Regions from separate parts of the Homo sapiens genome. Here regions 2, 3 and 4 are each linked to region 1. The links are contacts of gene promoters, found by promoter capture Hi-C in human tissues and cell types (Jung and others, 2019). All regions are on one chromosome and are shown on one strand. The core of a region is centred on a gene start or on the middle of the fragment in contact, and the rest is flanking DNA. Distances in the headings are between cores, read along the strand shown. Region 1 holds the start of ELL2 (elongation factor for RNA polymerase II 2). Region 2 overlaps PCSK1 (proprotein convertase subtilisin/kexin type 1). Region 3 overlaps LOC101929710 (a long non-coding RNA gene). Region 4 overlaps PCSK1 (proprotein convertase subtilisin/kexin type 1).

What was found. Contacts are between HindIII fragments. The study calls those that stand out against the background at their distance.
Region 2: a contact is called between a fragment that was not itself captured here and the fragment with the promoter of ELL2 in region 1, in 1 of the 25 tissues and cell types used here (dorsolateral prefrontal cortex).
Region 3: a contact is called between a fragment that was not itself captured here and the fragment with the promoter of ELL2 in region 1, in 3 of the 25 tissues and cell types used here (bladder, liver and spleen).
Region 4: a fragment that was not itself captured here is called in contact with the fragment with the promoter of ELL2 in region 1 in 1 of the 25 tissues and cell types used here (thymus).

What each region holds. Positions count from the first base shown.
Region 1 is chr5:95,960,247-95,965,147 of GRCh38, reverse strand. It overlaps ELL2 (elongation factor for RNA polymerase II 2), which reads left to right and starts at 3,297. Exons shown (of 12, transcript NM_012081.6): 1 at 3,297-3,573. The coding sequence starts at 3,427. It overlaps LOC101929710 (a long non-coding RNA gene), which reads right to left and starts at 3,147. Exons shown (of 5, transcript NR_130776.1): 1 at 3,112-3,147. It also overlaps a transcript of CAST not described here. RefSeq lists silencers at 2,741-3,208, 3,164-3,403, 3,474-3,883 and an enhancer at 2,688-3,445. The HindIII fragment of the contact is 6,597 bases long and covers 717-4,901 here.
Region 2 is chr5:96,410,816-96,415,597 of GRCh38, reverse strand. It overlaps PCSK1 (proprotein convertase subtilisin/kexin type 1), which reads left to right. Exons shown (of 14, transcript NM_000439.5): 7 at 3,108-3,280; 8 at 4,612-4,782. The region is part of intron 4 of LOC101929710 (a long non-coding RNA gene); the gene reads right to left. It also overlaps a transcript of CAST not described here. Among named protein-coding and RNA genes, the nearest start is that of PCSK1, 20 kb to the left of the region's middle. The HindIII fragment of the contact is 3,852 bases long and covers 67-3,918 here.
Region 3 is chr5:96,368,065-96,372,614 of GRCh38, reverse strand. All of the region lies in intron 3 of LOC101929710 (a long non-coding RNA gene), which reads right to left. It also overlaps a transcript of CAST not described here. Among named protein-coding and RNA genes, the nearest start is that of PCSK1, 63 kb to the left of the region's middle. The HindIII fragment of the contact is 8,912 bases long and covers 1-4,550 here.
Region 4 is chr5:96,389,662-96,394,154 of GRCh38, reverse strand. It overlaps PCSK1 (proprotein convertase subtilisin/kexin type 1), which reads left to right. Exons shown (of 14, transcript NM_000439.5): 14 at 777-3,822. The coding sequence ends at 1,154. The region is part of intron 4 of LOC101929710 (a long non-coding RNA gene); the gene reads right to left. It also overlaps a transcript of CAST not described here. Among named protein-coding and RNA genes, the nearest start is that of PCSK1, 41 kb to the left of the region's middle. The HindIII fragment of the contact is 5,490 bases long and covers 1-4,493 here.

The sequences.
Region 1 (4,901 bases), core at 2,048-4,547:
CACTACCGTCCAGCATCTTCAGTCCCTATGACATTGTATCTGCCCTCTTTCACTCATTTGGATATCCAGTGGTCCCTGAAGGCATCTGAATTGGTGACCTCTGTACCAAAGATGTGAGAAACAGTCATTAAATATGCAGCAACCTGGAATGAGGGGTGGCCCAGCATTTGAATGCCAGAGAAGGCCTTGATAGTCACATATCCTTTGCCAGCACTGTATACTAGACATGAGAGATGGAGCAGGCCCTGCATCAAATTCCTTTTAGCCTTTTTCCTGCACTGAACTGTCTTATATGACAGATTTCTTCTCAGTTATTAAATCTAATCCATAGCTACTCAGTGTATATAAGGACTGGAAGGACATTTAAAGAGCTGATTCCGACCCTGCCTCTCCTGGTTATGTTAGGCAGGTTGCTTTTAAATAAATGGGGGTCTCAGTTCCTCCTTCATAAAACTAATGTGTCCACCTGGAATCATCATGAAGATCATTTTTAGTTGGGCTGTCTCCATCTATACCACCTCCAACTTATCTAGAATCTACTCAACCCTCAAGAGCTGTTCAAGTTCTATCACCTCCATTAAACCTCTTCAGACTTCTCCTTTCTTTGAATTTTTGAGCTTATCACCAACACCGTCCAAATTAGCATTTACTAATTTTCTAATTGCTTTGCTTTGACTATACTGGTTCACTTGCCACACTGAAACAGAAAATTCCTCTAGAGACTTTACAGTTTAATTTTTAAATCCTCTACCGCATGTTATACTTAACTGGTATTCAATGATTATTTAATTATTTAAACCAGATAAAGATACAGAAAATATGTATAAAATGGCAACCTTCCCAAAAAGCACCTTTCATCAGCCTCCTCAAAATAAATTATCCTAACCAGCATCATAACTTGACCATCTGATTCAGGCAGGCGTAATGTGTACTATGCCTGTGAGACATCAATGAAAAGACACTGCTAGATTACCATATTACTTTGTACTTGATCATTTCCTCCTTCCACAGTTGAAAAGCTCAAAAGGGGAAAAATACAAACAACCATTAACTCACTACAATAATATATTAATCCGTGAAAGATTTGTTACCCACTAAAATAGGGCATGAGAAAAATTTTCCTATTATAATTTTTAAAAAAAGTCAATTACTAGTAAGAAGCTACAGGTCAGATATTTGAAAACTACAACGAAAACCATCCTTACTCCTCCCCCACCCGCTTGGATGTCATCAGAAATTCTGAGTAAGAGTAGGCCAAGTTAGGATATCATGTGGGTGGGGATTTACCCACATTCACCGGAAAAGCAGTGGGATACAGGTTTTACTTGTTCCGGTCAAACCTCCCTTCCCCCTCACCTCCCAAATAATTAAGGCTTTAGCTATGTGCTCAGTCCTTTACTATCAAAAAAAAAAAAAAAAAAAGAGAGAGAGAAAAGAAAAGTTCAAGTACAGAATTATTTTTAGATTATAGTCCGCTTAGAGATGAACTATTTGAATAAGGTTTCTACTTTTGGAAAGCGGAGAAAACTAGGTAGTAAAGCCTCTATTTCCCTTCTAAGAGTAAACTTTTTAATCCAATTTGATGATTACCTTAATATCTCTACTACATGAATTTAAGATAACACTGTATCACTAAAGTAAATGAAATTAGCAAGCGTTAATCACGTCTTAACAGCTAGCCAATCTTAGTGGATTGAAATTAAGTCAATTTACAAACTGTTTTCCTGTGATGGAGTAACACTTAATACAGGTGTTTCCACTTAATCCAATTCATTCTGTAATTCACATTATACACCTACTATGTTTGAAGGTCTGAATCAAAAAGGAGTGTACCCGTACGGTGGGGAAGGCATTTATTGGGAGGGGAGGACATGGAATCATGGCCCTAATCCATTTAAAATAATGAAAAATACTGATTAAATATCTATAAACTTTCCCGGGGAATCCCAGTAGAACAGAACATGGTTTTATAAGCTGAGGGTAAAAACAAGCGTCTCAGTTTTTTTATTAAAAGAACTTTTTTAAACTGCCTTTCAACAGTTTGAAAGCTTTCAATGGTTTGTTTTATCTGGTGTTTCTGATCAACCAATTAATCCATCCTCTGACAGGAACCCATCTGTCAGTCTATCCACACACAATCTGAAAGGGACTCCAGATTAGGCTCCCTCTTTTAGCCACGCCTACACAGGAAGCATCCTGTGGATGGAATGGAAAGTATGCCAGGCCTTTGCACGCCCCTCACGCCCCCATCTCCTTCGCTTAACCTCGACAGCCTCTTACCTTTAAACCCTAGCTAGGTTTTCACACAGCCCTATCAAATAAAAAGGACAATACTCAAACTGAATTAGAGAATGAGAATTGTCGAGGTTTCTTTTAATTTAGATCAATGCCAGTTTTACTCTTCTTCTAGAGTCCTTTTTAAGGAGATATCATCCCCACCAGTTGTGATCCCAGAGAATCACAACAGGGCATGGCGTAGGAAAGACCTCGAAGCTCAATTCTCTATTATACCATGCCCACCATACGAAAGGCATTTAACCTCCCGCGTGATTTTGTCCTTAAGATGCTCCACAAGATCTAACACAACTCCTACATCTAAGAGTCGACTCACTAATTTCAAGGGTTTTTGTTTTTGTTTTTGTTTTTATAAGCTCTGCGTGTGGCACCCGATAACTTCAAGTTTAGAGTGAGCAGTTTCCTCCCAATGCCGTTTGCTCAACTACAGTACTAGGAGTTTTGAGGAGCAGCTCTCTAGCGAGTCCTCCTGCTGCGTCCTCCCCCACACGCACGCACCAAGTTCCACAGCTTCCGCAGCCGTCGGGGAACAAAGTCCTTATTTGGTCACGGCCATCCCCTTACATAGTGGAGGTGGAGATCCTCCTCTCCAAGGACCACCCGCGTAGGGCGAGATTCCCCAATTCTGACTTTTCACTACTATCCCCCACAGGGGCGGGGCTCCAACTCCAGGTAACCAGACCAGGCAACCTGGACTTCCAATTAGCAGGGGAGTCCCCAAGCCAGCCTGGCCAATCTCGGCCGGCTAGCCAAGACGACCAGACGTGACGTCAGACATGATTAAGTTGGCGCGTCACCTAGACGTCAGCCTCTTACCTCTCGGACGTCCCGTCCCAGGAGCAAAACTCTAGTGACTTTGGGCCCGCCCCCGTGAGAGTGGAGGGCGGCCGATGAGGGCGGTTCTGAAGGGAACAAGACCAATGAGACGAGCCCGGGGCGGGGCGCGGGGCCGGAGGGTGGGGCGGGTGGCGGCGGTGGCAGTCCGAGGTCTGGCTCCGCGCAGTATATGACAGTACGTCAGCAGCGGGATGGCCCTAGCAGTGGCGGCGGCTGCAGAAGCCCAAGCAGCCGCGGCCGCAGTGGAGGCTAGAGCCGGAGCGGCGGCGGCGGCGGCACCCCGGGGAGTTTAAGATGGCGGCGGGGGGGACAGGGGGCCTGCGGGAGGAGCAGCGCTATGGGCTGTCGTGCGGACGGCTGGGGCAGGACAACATCACCGTACTGCATGTGAAGCTCACCGAGACGGCGATCCGGGCGCTCGAGACTTACCAGAGCCACAAGGTGAGCGGGCCGGCCGGCAGGCTGGGCTCAGAGAGGCAGAGCGCACCCCTCACGGCCTGGCCGCGCCCGGGTGCGGGGCCGGCGGAGCCGTGGCTGGCAGCTGCTACCGTCAGCGCCCGCAGCGGCCAGGCAGGGCAGGGCCGGGCAGGGTGGCTGACGCCGCGGTCCCGGGCTAGCCTGGGCGTTGGGGAAGCGGGCAGTCGGGCGGCCCCTGGCGGCGGGGCCGAGGCAGCCGCAGCCCTGGGTCGGCTGCGCTGCCGCTGCGGGACTTTCCGACGGCCCCCGAGGATTTCCTGGCTTGTTGGGTCCCAAGGAGGGAGAGAGGCCCCGATAAGAGAAGTGAGATGACCACGCTACCCTCGGCGGGGAAGGAGGGTAGCGAGCAGCGTATGGGCAAGGAACCAGGGACGACTCGCGGGCACCAGCTGCCCGCGTTTTCCAGTTACATAGGCACGGTGGATCCTCAGAGACAGGACACAGGCGCTCCGCGTGTGGGGGTGGGACCTTGTATTCCCAGGGACTTGGGGACACAGGCGCTCCACGTATCAGGGGACACACTGTGTGCTCGAAGGGATGGGGACTCGGGCGCATGGTGAGGGGCACACGGTGTACTCATAGAGATAGGGACTTAGGCAGTCCGTGTAAGGGGGCGGCGCACACTGGAACGGCGGGGACACTGGCGCTTCGCGTACGGGGGGGGAGGGGACACACCTGCATTCCCAGGGACTCCGGGACACCGGCGCATCGCGTTACTGGAGACGCGCCGCGTCCAGGACGGACACAAACCAACACAGTGCCCTGGGGAGAGACCTGAGGACTCACGCACACTTAGCGCTCCCCGGGAGCAAGACATCGGGTTCTGGAGAGAGAGGTTCACGGACGCTCAACGTACCCGAAAAAGCTCCCGGCGTCTTGGGCTGACTCTGGGAAGTGTAAACGGGGAACGAGCCAGAGCCAGAAGGTGTGGGGAGGATACAATGCATCCCGGGCAGAGACTCGGGCCTCTCACCCCTCGTTTTCGAGAGAAGCCCATGGACACACACACACACATATACACACACACCCCTCCAGTACAGAGAGAGGCTCAGATAGGCGCACATACACTGTAATTGGACTACAAATCCAGACGCTTTCATGTTGGAAAAAAAATGGGAGAGACAGGGAAGCACCGAGAAGGGACGCGGTAACCAGGGTGCATGGGGAAACAGTTTATGGACATGCAGTACTGTGGGAGACCGGAGTGGATACATCGCGTGAGGGAGGGATATGCCATATGGGGGAACCTGTAACGTTTTACAGGAGAGGAGAGAGTCGGAAGGGAGATAGAA
Region 2 (4,782 bases), core at 743-3,242, 450 kb before region 1:
AAATAGCCAAATTTTATCTTTTATAGCAAGGATGTAGGATTTAATTGTTTTCATCAGTGTCCTTATGGGGAAACACATGGTAAGTTGCATTAGGGCAACTGTGGACATTTTAATAAAGAAACGATTTACAAGAATTAGAGAAAACCAACAAGGGGCTAAGAAGTGGTAGGCAGATGTTATCACCTTTAGCCTCAAGGAGCAAAGGGAAGAAGTCAGCAGAAAATAGAGAGGGAAAGCTGTGGTCACAGGAGAGAGCCACTGGATAGGCCTTGAGTACAACAACAGAGCCACTTCTAGGCAAAGGGGATTCAGGGGTATAGGCACCTCATTCTCCTCTTGATTCCCACCCTCTTGCTGGTGTCTTCAGTTGGCTGAACCCAATGGGAAGACAGAGCCCATTGATGCAGTCCATGTTCTAATGGAGAAGAGTGGAAAGTGTATCTGCAGGGGCCAAGAGAAAAGAAAAAACTGTCTCTCCTCTTTATGCTATCCCAACCTCAGGCTTTCATGTTATGTTATAAGCTTCAAGTTTAGTTTGGTTTTCAAAAACCATAATCACAAAAAGAATCAATTGTAGAACATTTCAATTACAATAAAACCCCATTAAACTCTACATGAGTATACCTTGCATTTGGTTATGCATTTCTTTTTAGAAACCAAATAAATATACATCGTGACATGTAATGCATCTTTCATGAATATAGGGCACTCTTAGAATTTTAAGTGTCATTCCTGATTCCTTTGATACTAACATCTTCAAAGTGTTCTGTTAATTTTTAAAAAAAATGAAGGGAGAAGCACAAATTATGTAATTAGCTAGTAAAAGAATTCACTCTTTTAGTCATAATGAACGAAACAGCTATAGTTTGTGAAAGAATCATCTGATCCCTTCATTTTGTAGAGAAAGAATCAGAAGCAAGCTGCTCAAGGTAATGAAAGCAAGTTTGTGGCAGTGTAGAACTGAAACACAAGATTCCAAGCCTACTGATGTTTTCCATTACTCCATCCTTTGATGGTCTGGCCCCAAATGCATTTTTTACCAATAATCTTCATTTATTAGGCACCTATTGTATGTCAGTTACTCTACAAATATTATAGGCAGTGTATCCTGGTGGTTAACAGATTTAGGGGCTAGATTTGTAGGGTTCAAATTCTGGCTCCCCAGTTTCAAGCTATGTGGCCTTGAGCAAGTCACTATCCCTTCCTGGCCTCAATCTCTCCATTTATAAAGTGAGGAGAATTACGGCACCCACCTCAAATGGTGGTTGTAAGGTTTAGATGAGTTTATACATGTAAAGCCTGTGGATTGGTGGCTGCATATAGACTATCATGAATGCACATGAGCTGTTATTATCATCCCTATTTTACAGTTGAAGAAACTGAGGCACAGAGGGTTAACTGGCTTGCCCAAGATTCCACAGCTGGTAAGAGCAGAACTGGGATTTTTTTTTTTTTTTTTTAGACAGAGTCTCACTCTGTCGCCCAGGCTGGAGTGCAGTGGCGCGATCTCGGCTCACTGCAAGCTCCGCCTCCCGGGTTCATGCCATTCTCCTGCCTCAGCCTCCTGAGTAGCTAGGACTACAGGAACCCGCCACTACGCCCGGCTAATTTTTTTTTTTTTTTTTTTTTTTTTTGTATTTTTAGTGGAGACAGGGTTTCATCATGTTAGCCAGGATGGTCTCGATCTCTTGACCTCGTGATCCGCCCGCCTCGGCCTCCCAAAGTGCTGGGATTACAGGCGTGAGCCACCGCACCTGGCCGATTTTTTTTCTAAATGCATTTTTTTTTTTTTTTTTTGAGACAGAGTCTTGCTCTGTTGCCCAGGCTGGAGTGCAGTGGTTGCAATCTTAGCTCACTGCAACCTCTGCCTCCCAGGTTCAAGCATTTCTTGTGCCTCAGCCTCCTGAGTAGCTGGGATTATAGGTGCGTGCCAGCATGCCTGACTAATTTTTGTATTTTTAGTAAAGATGGGGTTTCTCCATGTTGGCCAGGCTGGTCTTGAACTCCTGGCCTCAAGTGATCCACCCACCTCGGCCTCCCAAAGTGTTGGTATTAAAGGCATGAGCCACTGCGCCTGGCTCTAAATGCATTTTTGAACAATTTCTTTTTTACAAATACAACTTTCACTGATCATATCAATTTCATATCATTTTACCTTTGCTCCATAGTAAATAAGTGTGAAAATCTAAGGCTGTGCACTTTATTGTATTATGAGCCTGAAGCCAGAAATAACCAGGTAGCTGCCTGTAATCTGTCCAGATTGTTTTTGCCTTCCTGGCTCTTGAATTCATAAGTCTGATGACGGGTGACAGCCTGTTGGAAAGCACAAAGAGCTACCGCACCTACATTGTCCTGATGAAAAATGATTCCCCTTGGGGGTGAAATCCATGGCAATGATTTCATCCTTGAGATTATTTAGAAGAATAGGAAGCATGTTCCTTGAAAATGTTTCTTAGCAAACACATGAAAGGATGGCCTCTGGGTTATTTTTAATCAGGGCTTAGAAACAAAAGTGCTTTCCCTATTTGTTAGTTTCCTGTTGTGACTAGATCTTTTGAAGCTACATGTTTCCTGTCCAGAGTCCTTGTGTGGCGTAGACTGGGCCACAGCCATTTGTGGGACAGCCATGAGGAGGTGCATCACCAGAGGGCTGCTTGGAGGGTCTTTCTGAAAGCTGGTCTGTCATTTAGTTGGGGTGGGAGGGAGGGCAAACATTTTGTAATTGACAACAATCACGGCCACTTCCTCTCATCCAAGGATGCTGCTCCACTTCAGACTCAATGCCCAGAGCTTTTGCTGGGAAGAGAGCCTTGAGTGGGACCAAAAAAAAAAAAAAAAAAAAAAACATCACAGCTGCCTACACAGTGCATGGTATTGCATAGTATTATCTCTAAAGTGCGACAAAAAAGCTTATGGGGGCAGCAACATGTTCCTTCCTTCTGTGGTGTCAGTAGCTGGGTTACAGAAATTGGGGACATCTATCTAGTAGTTACCTGGTTTTTGACTCTTAAAATCCTTTAAAAATACAAATAGTAAGAGTATTGGGCTTTTGTCCATGTACATACTGACATCAACCTTTGTGTGTCTTTGTTTATTTTGTTTCTCAGGCATAAGAATGCTGGATGGCATTGTGACGGATGCTATTGAGGCCAGTTCAATTGGATTCAATCCTGGACACGTGGATATTTACAGTGCAAGCTGGGGCCCTAATGATGATGGGAAAACTGTGGAGGGGCCTGGCCGGCTAGCCCAGAAGGCTTTTGAATATGGTGTCAAACAGGTAAGATGCTTTACACAGACCCACATGAAATGAAACCTGACCATCTGGATATGAGGAGAAGGAAAGAACACTTAGGTTACATGGAATAACATTGTTGTGGATTTCTTAACAAAGTCCTTTACAATTTTAAATGCACTTAGAGGGCCAAATCATTCTTCAGAGGGATGGGAGTTAAGGCTTAAGAAAGTTTTCCCTATTTGTGGCCAGGCGCGATGGCCAAGGGAGGCAGATCAATTGAGGCCAGGAGTGGCCAATATGGAGAAACCCCACCTCTACTAAAAACACAAAAATTAGCCAGGTGTAACTAGGTTGCACTGTTCTGCAACCTAGTTTAGACAGTGAAACTGTGGTCTCAACTTAGATGCCTATAGTCCCAGCTACTCGGGAGGCTGAGGCACAAGAATTGCTTGAACCCAGAAGGCGGAGGTAGCAGTGAGCTGAGATTGCAGCATTGCACTCCAGCCTGGGTGACAGAGTGAGACCCTGCCTCAAAACTAAATATAAATAAATAAAATGAATTTTCCCTATTTGGGTCTGAGGTTGAATGGAAATTTATTACTTTTAGCATATTTATTTTAAAAGTGCTTCTGGACATTTCTTTCTCCTTACTCATTTTCCTGCTGCTTTTGGGTTTTTACACTAGTAAAAAACTACTCAGTCTTCTTCCAAGCGCGGAAATGCTTTTCAAATATAGAAACGTGTTGCCTTCTGCTCTGCACGTGCCTGTTGAATACCTGTGCCTTGGTTGGATTGCTCTGTCACTTGGGTTTACTGTATTCTTGCACAGATTCTAAAGCCTTGTGCTCCATAAGATGAAACAAAAGTAGAAACTCTGGAGAGCACAAATTGAAAAATCATAGAAAGGGCGGCTTTGACGAGTTCCATTCAATTGAAGAGTCCCTTTTAATGCAGCTGCAAGGCAGATCTGAATAATTCCTAATTTTGTCATTCTATCAGTCAGCCAGAAGATTGAAGCAGAAAGAAAGAGAGGAAGTTCAAAGATTTAAGTGCAGTGACATAAACTAAGAGAAGGGTGGAAAAATATGAGCAAGTGCAAAACGCTAGATTATGAATCTGCATAAGAAAGAAAAGCGTGTGCTCAGCCCTACCCCAGGAGGGCCCAGAGACTGGCAGGGCCAGAGTCCAGTGGCTTATAATACACAGCCTTGTGAGATTTCCAATATCGAAGCCAAAAGATCTGGAATTGAAAATAGATCCCAAATAGCTGTCTCTGAGAATTTCACACATGTAGTCGTTGGGGATTTTATTGGGATATAACAATGACCCCAATAGATGATAACAGATAATATGCATTCTGGCTTTTCCTTTAGGGGAGACAGGGGAAGGGGTCCATCTTCGTCTGGGCTTCGGGAAACGGGGGGCGTCAGGGAGATAATTGTGACTGTGATGGCTACACAGACAGCATCTACACCATCTCCATCAGCAGTGCCTCCCAGCAAGGCCTATCCCCCTGGTACGCTGAGAAGTGCTCCTCCACACTG
Region 3 (4,550 bases), core at 1-2,500, 410 kb before region 1:
TGGCTATTCCTCAACTCTGGGATCAGGCTTGCTTGTTCTCTGCCTAAGTCCCATGGTATTACATTTATGACCAATGCAGCAGTCCCTGGTGGGTCTGGCCTCCCTAGAAATATTCAGCTCTTTCCCTGGGCCAATGGGTTCCAAATTTCCAAAGTCCTCCTCCTGCAGGTTCTCATGTCTTCCGAGGGCAACCACCATGATGATATCCATTGGCTAGAAGAGCCACCCCTGGCCAAGGTCTGGCAAAATACTGAAGGTCATGGGTATAACTTATATGTAATCAGATTCATGGGCAAAAGAAAAACAAATAAAGGACTGAAGAACAGAGTTCTCAGGAATTTTTTCCAAAATGGAATTTAAAAGGGTGAGGTATATAGCAAGGAACACTGAAGGAGCCACCTGATATTTAACAAACTGTGTTGTAGCAGCCCATAAACCTGGGTTCCAATCCTAGCCATTCTATTTACTACCTGTGAGAACTTACTTAAACTCTGAGAGCTTCAATTTTTCCCATTTCCAAAATTGGGGTGAACGTTGCTTCATGTAATTTACAGGAGAAAACAAATGCACAGCATTTCTGCACAATATTGGTACTTAATAAATGTTAGTTTAAAAAAACAAAGTTAATCAAGGGCAAATTATTGGAAGGAAAAATCAGAAAGTGAGCTAGAGGAGTTTATATGAATGATAACAAAGGCAGCCTGGTATACTGCCTTAGTATTAGAATATAATGTACTTTTAGCTCTGTAATGGTCATAAATCCTGCTGTGTTTAAGGTTTTTTTCTTCTGTTTGTCTTTGGATTTTTAATCCCATTTTCAGCCTGTAAATCTGGAGTGCTTTTAAAGACCAGTATAGACTGGTTGTCTAGGCTCATGATCAAAATTCCTTTTTCATACTTTCAACCAATGGGTATTTATTGAACACCTACTATGTGCCAGATGGTATGATAGGTAACAAGAACCCAACACCCAGAATGGTTCCTTCTTTCCTGTGATTTACAGTCCAGTGAGTGAAAGAGACAGAGAGCCTCCTAATAGAAGATAATGAAAGGAAAGTTTAATTTTGCACCTTGAGCGTTCAAAATACTTCATCTCCATGTCAGTGACAATAAATGTTTCTGGAAGAAGAAAGGAAGAAAGGTAGAGAGGGCAGGAAGTGTGCTATCAGAAAATAAATGTGAATATGCTAAGCCTCTGCCCCATTCCTCATCAACAGTTGACAGCGATTCAAGTAGAGGTCTCCTCCCCCATGGGCTATCACAGGATTAGTACAGCATCTACATGAGGTGGGGAGCTTATTGACTAGCCCTGTTAATGATGACCTTTCTGGAAACTTTTCCAGAACTTGAGTTTTTTAATGCTTTGGCACAATAATGCTTTATCAGCCTTCCTACATAATGAGCTATGGAAATGAGCCAACCATAGAAAAGTGACTCCATTTACTTAGTTCCATGCTACAGATGGCCTAGTGAACACTATGAGCTAATGGAAAACTAACAAATGCTGGTCCAGGTCAACAGCTGTTTCCTTTGTAACTGGGGTCTGCAAGACACAGGTGTATTTCATGGGCCCTTATGTAGACTACCATCTGCTAACGGATGTTCTTCATTTCCTTTAAATGTAAAGATAGGTACCCGGAATTGGAAGTGTGAATGAGTGTATTGTGGACATTAACTTGGCTTCATTTAGGTCTACATAGTTGGGGAGCTCTCCAATTTGAGTTATATCATAAACAGGTGAATCCCTAAGACAGCACCTCAAGTTTACTCACAGTTTCTCTACGGGCAAAATAGGAATTAGATGTGCTTTCTTCTATTGTTTTGCTTGTGGATTTGCTTTACATGTTTTCTCATAATTCCACCACATCAGGTCTCTCTGAAGCAACAGTTGCACAGTGTAGTCCAAGCAGGCAGGCTAGGCACTTACAATCCAAACTCTTCCTATCCCTACCGTGAATATGAAGAGAGCTGGAATAAAGCAACAGTACTGTTGACTTCCAGGCCTACCCCTTACTGTGAATCAGTGCTGCTATGCCTGTGAATTTCAGTTTTCTGTGTATACAGGTTGGATGCAGTTGTGGGGGGTGAAAATTAAAGAACCAGTCTGGCCCTGAAGGGGTGTTTGGCAGCTCCATGTTGCTCTTTAGTTTATGAGGTTCCATATTGCATATTGTCCTCAGTTTGGGACGCTTAAAGTTTCAAGAAAGTAAGAACAATTTCATTCACTACCCTGTTACAGCTGCTTGCTTCTTTTTTGTCTCTCTTACTCCTAGAAATACCCAGAAGTCTATTACAGTCGCTGTTTCATCCCCAGAATCTCTAACAGTGCCTGGTACATACAAAATTCTGGTCCTGGTTCTACTACAGTACTGCCTAATATTGTGTAATCTTAGGCAAGTCAGCAAGACATTTAACTTCTCTGAGTTTGTATTTCTCCATTTACTATTTTTTAAATTAATTATATATAATAAACTATAAAATATATTAATACCTCCTATAATGAGTTTCATATCACAAGGAAAATGGTGATAATCCTTAGCCATTCAGATCCTCTTTTATTCAGTTTGAAATGTAAGAGATTTCCATTTTGAAGTTCAAAACCAGATGAATAGCAGAAATTTCATATTATTTAACCTAAGTCATGACATACATTTTTATTGAGCAGCTACTATGTGCAAAGCATAGCTGTCAGACATTGGGGATACAACAGTGAAGAAAAATAAAACTTGTTATTATTGACTTTACATTCTAATTGAAGACAAAAATAGACTAAGAGATGAAAATATAGTGGGTCATGCAGTGAAGAGAGCTTAGAAGGAAAATAAAACGGAATAAAGAGACAAAGAGTCACTTGAGGGGAGGAGTGGCATACTAAAACAAGGAGAATTGAGTAAAATGTACCTACTGAATGTTGAGACTCTCAGCCACATTTCCTTACTTGGATTTCAGATTTTTGGCAGCTGTGTAATTAAATATCAGAAAGGAGATTAAAAGGTCTTCTCATATTCTTCTACGATCATCTTCCCAAGAGAAAAGATCTAAAGGAATTACCTTTGGCTTTCATTTAACAAAACAACCAGCCAGATCACGTCAGAGTGAATTTTTGCCACACAGCTTCTGAGAAAGCTTTTTGGTCCTCCATAGTTAAATACCAAGAGGCAGCTAAGGGCTGCCAGACCTTCTTCTAAACTTCAGCCATGAATCTGAAGGTTAGAAGACAAAGCCAACAAGCAAAAACAGTAACTTAGAAGAAACAAAGATTTCACAAGGAGAAGAAAACTTCAAAAATGTTTGATATTTTCAGAGACAGAAGAGAAGAAATACTTATAGATATTAAAAAGCTAATTTGGAGAATAAAAAATGAAAAACTCATAAAGAGATTTATGTAATAATCCATCAAGAACTAAGTAAAATTTATTTAAAAGAAAATTAAATAAATATACGAGAAATCAGAAATAGAAAAAATATATAAAATATATAGATAAAAACGCAATATAAGGTCAACATCCAAATAGTAAAAGTCCAAAAAAGAGATATAGAATATTGAGGGTGCATGGATGAAATAATCATTAAATAATTGAAGCGATTATTGAGAAATCATTGTAAAGTTTCAGAATTCTAACCACAAAGAAAAGATCACTTTCAAATGGGTGAGAAAACAGGTTTCATGCAACAGCAATACCAAGCTTTAGGAACAAAATGGAGTAACACTTTCTAAATACTAAGAGAAATTCTTTCCAGGTTTAAATTTCTTACCTAGCCAATTAAGGGTGTGGGTAGAAGGAAATTATTTTTAGACAAGCAAGATTTCAAAAACATTACTTTGCAAAACTTTTCAGAAAAGTAATAGAATAGATATTCTCTCAATATGAAGGAGCAATTCAAGAAAACATAGGATCCAAGGAACAGGAGCTTGTTAAGAGAGAAAACAAGAATCCCAGAGAGATAGTGGACAGAAATACCAAGCTCACAGCTCTGCAGCAGGCTGAGAGATCAGCCACTTCCTACTGGAGCGAATCAGAAGGCTCCAAGAGGAAGAACTGAATGTGTCTGAGATTTACACATGTGGAGTTTGAGAATAATTCTATAGGTTTTTTTGTTTTTTTTTTTTTTTAGATGGAGTTTCACTCTTGTTGCCCCAGGCTAGAGTGTAATGGTGCAATTTTGGCTCACTGCAACCTCCAACTCCTGGGTTCAAAGGATTCTCCTGCCTCAGCCTCCTGAGTAGTTGGGATTACAGGCATGTGTCACCATGCCCGGCTAATTTTTGTATTTTTAGTAGAGACGGGGTTTCACCATGTTGGCCAGGCTGGTCTCGAACTCCTGACCTAAGGTGATCCACCCGCATTGGCCACCCAAAGTGCTGGTATTACAGGAGTGAGCTATCGTGCCCAGCCAATTCTATAGAAATTCAAACAATTTTTAAAAATTGGTAATTAGTAACTCCAAGGAAAAGCAGAAAGGAAAGGGAAGGGAAGGAAAGGAAAGGGGAAAAAAAAGAAAAGTAATTAAAGGATACTATAAGGTTCAGTTATGAATACATTTGCATA
Region 4 (4,493 bases), core at 1,047-3,546, 430 kb before region 1:
GAATAGGTCCAGCTCTGAGCTGGGTGTTTTGGAAGATACAGAGGCAAAGTACATATTCAAGAAACTTACACATGAACTGTGAAGGCCTCAGCTTGAATTCTAGTTCCATTTATATTCTTCAAAGCAGCTTCCCTCCAGGACCTGAGTCCTGAGTACTTTTCTTCACAGTCTGGGAAGCAGGTTAACCTTGTCAGTGTTGGAATATTGAAACACTTCCACAGCAGTTGGCCAAGGTTGGCTTCTCTGAGCTCTCCAGCTCCCTCCTCCCCAGCCTAGCACCTCAGTCTCTCCCCTGACCACTTCTTACAGCTCAGTGGCTAAAAGGGTAGTTCTGAAAGCCAGTGCCTCCAGGAAGGCACACCCATGCTACCGCAACCAGTGGGTGCCTTCTATATGACTTGTTAGATATTTTGATATCCTCTGCTTCCCAAAATGGATTCCATGACAGCAGGCTGACAAGTAAAGAAAACCACCATGTACTGAGTACTTACCTATACAGTCTCATCTAGTCTTCAAAACCACCACAAATGGAGGTACTCTTATTCCACCTGACAGGTGAAGTTGAGGGAGATTAAAAAGGTTGTTAAAGGTACCCCAGAGGGTAGGCAAATGAGGGTTGAAGCCCAAGTCCATGTGGCTCCCAGTCTTGAACTCTCTCCCCTCCCCTCATTGCCTCTCAAGCGGCAGGCAGCGTTCCTGTGGTAGGGTTGCAACTAGCTTGCCTGGCCATAAATAATGAACCTTCTTCCCTTTGTGGATGGCATTCTATGTTTTAGGAGCAGCCCACACAAGAGAACCCTAAGGAGAACACCCTGGTGTCCAAAAGCCCCAGCAGCAGCAGCGTAGGGGGCCGGAGGGATGAGTTGGAGGAGGGAGCCCCTTCCCAGGCCATGCTGCGACTCCTGCAAAGTGCTTTCAGTAAAAACTCACCGCCAAAGCAATCACCAAAGAAGTCCCCAAGTGCAAAGCTCAACATCCCTTATGAAAACTTCTACGAAGCCCTGGAAAAGCTGAACAAACCTTCCCAGCTTAAAGACTCTGAAGACAGTCTGTATAATGACTATGTTGATGTTTTTTATAACACTAAACCTTACAAGCACAGAGACGACCGGCTGCTTCAAGCTCTGGTGGACATTCTGAATGAGGAAAATTAAAATAAGTGTGTGGTCCCAAGTTGGAAATATTCATGCTTCTTCCTTACCCTGCGATTTTGCCTGTGTCTGAAGTGGTTGTTTTGTCATGAATTCTTATGCTTATAATATCCTTTGTGGCACCTTTTCTTTTTCTCCCTAAACTGTACATGTGAAGGGGATGAGCTCAAGCAGGAAGTTCAACTTCCAGAATTGATCATAGGTATTTCAAAACACATCTTTCCTGTCTGCACAAGTGAAGTGTTTTGTTCTTTCTGGAGTCACAGTTGACAAAAAGCTCTTACACTACATTAGAACACTGCATTAGAGCCCATTTCAATTCTCAAAAGAAAAGGCAAAACCTGGGATATCAATTAATTTGAAAACATAATCTGCAAAGAATGAGAAGGAGTCAGAAACTGTTTCTGTAGCTTGTTCCCTGTCTTGTCCATGTGGTTCTTCAAATTTTGATGCCAAGAAAGTATTTGGTAGGCCTAATGAAGGAGTTCACTGTAAGACTCATTCCCTAGATCTTTCTATTCCAAAGTGCCACTCATTCCTGTAGTCAAAATCTGGTCATGTTGGTCAAAAGCTGGATTATTTAGATCTAGAAACAGATCTTGAAATCTGAATGCTCTGGTTTGAGCAATTTTCGAACATTCTTTGCCTGGTGCACTGTGTCTGTGGTGCCAGAGGCGTCCGTGGATCCAGAGGTGGTTATGACTCGTGCTGCATGCCTGGTCTTTCCTCTGTTTCTCCTTCTGAAAGTTTTCTATACCTGTCTCCTTTCTCAGCCACAAAATAAATGTTGGGAGAAATGATATATACCACTTTCCCAGAAAAAAAAAAACTTACACTTGGGACTTGGCAAATTCCTAGTCACAATTTTTTTCAGCAGTAACAGGAAACCACTTATCACATGGAGACCTAATGTAATAATAGAAAAATACTCATAATAGGGAGAAACCAAGAGAAGTTTTGTTTTTGTTTTTTTCCAACTGTGTTCATTAGAACAGCGTGTTCTAAGTATTTGAAACTGAATGTTTATTCCTTGATACTAAAAGTTCTTCTCCAATCCTATCACTGATAGTGTCCAAATTCTCACCAAATTGCTCCTAAGCTTCAAATCAGAAGCAGAAACTGGCAGGCCATGGACCTTAATTGTCCCTCAGGTAGATTTTGTTTGGTATGCAGAATGTTTTTAAAATATGAGTGGTTATTGAAAATATGATGTTTCACATAAAACCTCATTCTCGGACCCATCTTTGCTCATGGCAACAGTTAGCTGGAGCTGAGTAGCAGCTGCCTGATTAGATGACTCTCAGTCCCCATGGCACCCTGCTCCATGTTACCTAGAGCAGGCACTTGATTCCTTGCTGGGCAGTATCCAATAGGCATTTGATTTTGCCCACTCCTACACTAAGCGAATGTGTACAAAGTGTAAATGCATTAGGAAAAACAAACTACCCGCATCTTCTGTTAGGCAGGATCTGTACAATAATAATTATGAGTTTGCTTATGTAATCTCACCTCACCTGGATGATCACTAATACTAATTCATTTATTACTAACCTTCTGGCTTCCTTCTCTCAATATGCTTACAAAGTCTCCAGTCACCTACAATGCTGGCTTTCTCCCACTGAGTTTGCTGTTTGCAATTTTTCCATGAAGTTTGAACTTCATAAGGTAATTCATGGCATTGAACTGGTTCATGAAAAGAACACTAGAGTCTGTCATTTGCTTTGGCTTGAAGTATGGTTGGTAACACAAATTTTCACCTGCTCTTCTACCATTTGAATTTGTGTAGAGGGTGTTTGCAGAGCAATGCCCGTAATGCTTAGAGAATGTTCTCCTAAAAGACTTGCGGAATCACTCTGTCCTTGGAAGTTTCATATATTGTTTGATATGAAGTGTTAGATAGAATTTCCAATATTGGAGCATATCAAAAAGTATTAAAACTAAAAAGGACCAGAGAATTCTTAGATTGGCCCGGAAAGGCCAATAAAGAGTTAGAATGAAAACTCATTACTTTTCCATTCCCAATCTAGTGCTAGATGTATAAATCTTTCTTTTGATTCTTCCTAACAAAATATTTTCTGGGTTAAAACCCCAGCCAACTCATTGGGTTGTAGCCAAAGGTTCACTCTCAAGAAGCTTTAATATTTAAATAAAATCATATTGAATGTTTCCAACCTGGAGTATAATATTCAGATATAAAACAGTTTTGTCAGTCTTTCTTAGTGCCTGTGTGGATTTTTGTGAAAATGTCAAAGAGAAAACTTATATACTATTTCCCTTGAAATTTTAAACTATATTTTCTTTACAGGTATTTATAATATACCAATGCTTTTATCAAACAGAATTTTAAAGAGCATAATAAATTATATTAAAGAACCAAAAGTTTTCCTGAGAATAAGAAAGTTTCACCCAATAAAATATTTTTGAAAGGCATGTTCCTCTGTCAATGAAAAAAAGTACATGTATGTGTTGTGATATTAAAAGTGACATTTGTCTAATAGCCTAATACAACATGTAGCTGAGTTTAACATGTGTGGTCTTGGTATTCTTAAGGGAACTTCCACATTATACATTTGATGTATTGACCAGAATATGTAAAATATGCTTATAAATCAGAAAAATAAATTGTTTCTCACTAAGTCAAAAGAAAAAAAGCTCATGTTTCCACCACAAACAAGATCTCCCTCTTTTATTGTGTTTCCCAAATGGACTATACAAAAGAAAAGCTGACAGTTTACATTAAGGAGTTAATTCCTTTTTAGGAAATTGGGCTTTCTTGGAGTCAATTTAAGAATCTACCTGAACAAGGTATGTTTTATTTTCCTCTCTAGCCCATCCTTCACTTTCTTGACAACATGCAAAGCTGTATGACTGAGCCTTAACTGAAATGTTGAGAAATGAACAAACTATCTAAACTAAACTAAACAGACTTACTACATGTAAGAGAAATGATTCCCAACATTTCACCAAATAGGACTTAGTTTACAGGCTAGAGTAAAGCAGCTAAGTGTGAAATCCTTCCCAGAGGTTCTCTCATTAGAACCCTCAAAGTTCCAACTTTTTTTTTTTCTTTTGCTAGAGTCTCACTCTTTTGCCCGGACTACAGTGCAATGGCATGATCATGGCTCACTGCAGCCTCCACATCCCAGGCTCAAACGATCTTCCCACCTCAGCCTCCCTTGTAGCTGGGACTACAGGTGTGCACCGCCACACCCAGCTAATTTTTGTGTTTTTTGTAGGGACAGGTTTCGTCATGTTGCCCAGGCTGGTCTCAAACTTTTGGGCTCAGGTGATCCACCTGCCCCAGCCTCCCAAAGTGCTGGGATTACAGGCATCAGCTACTGT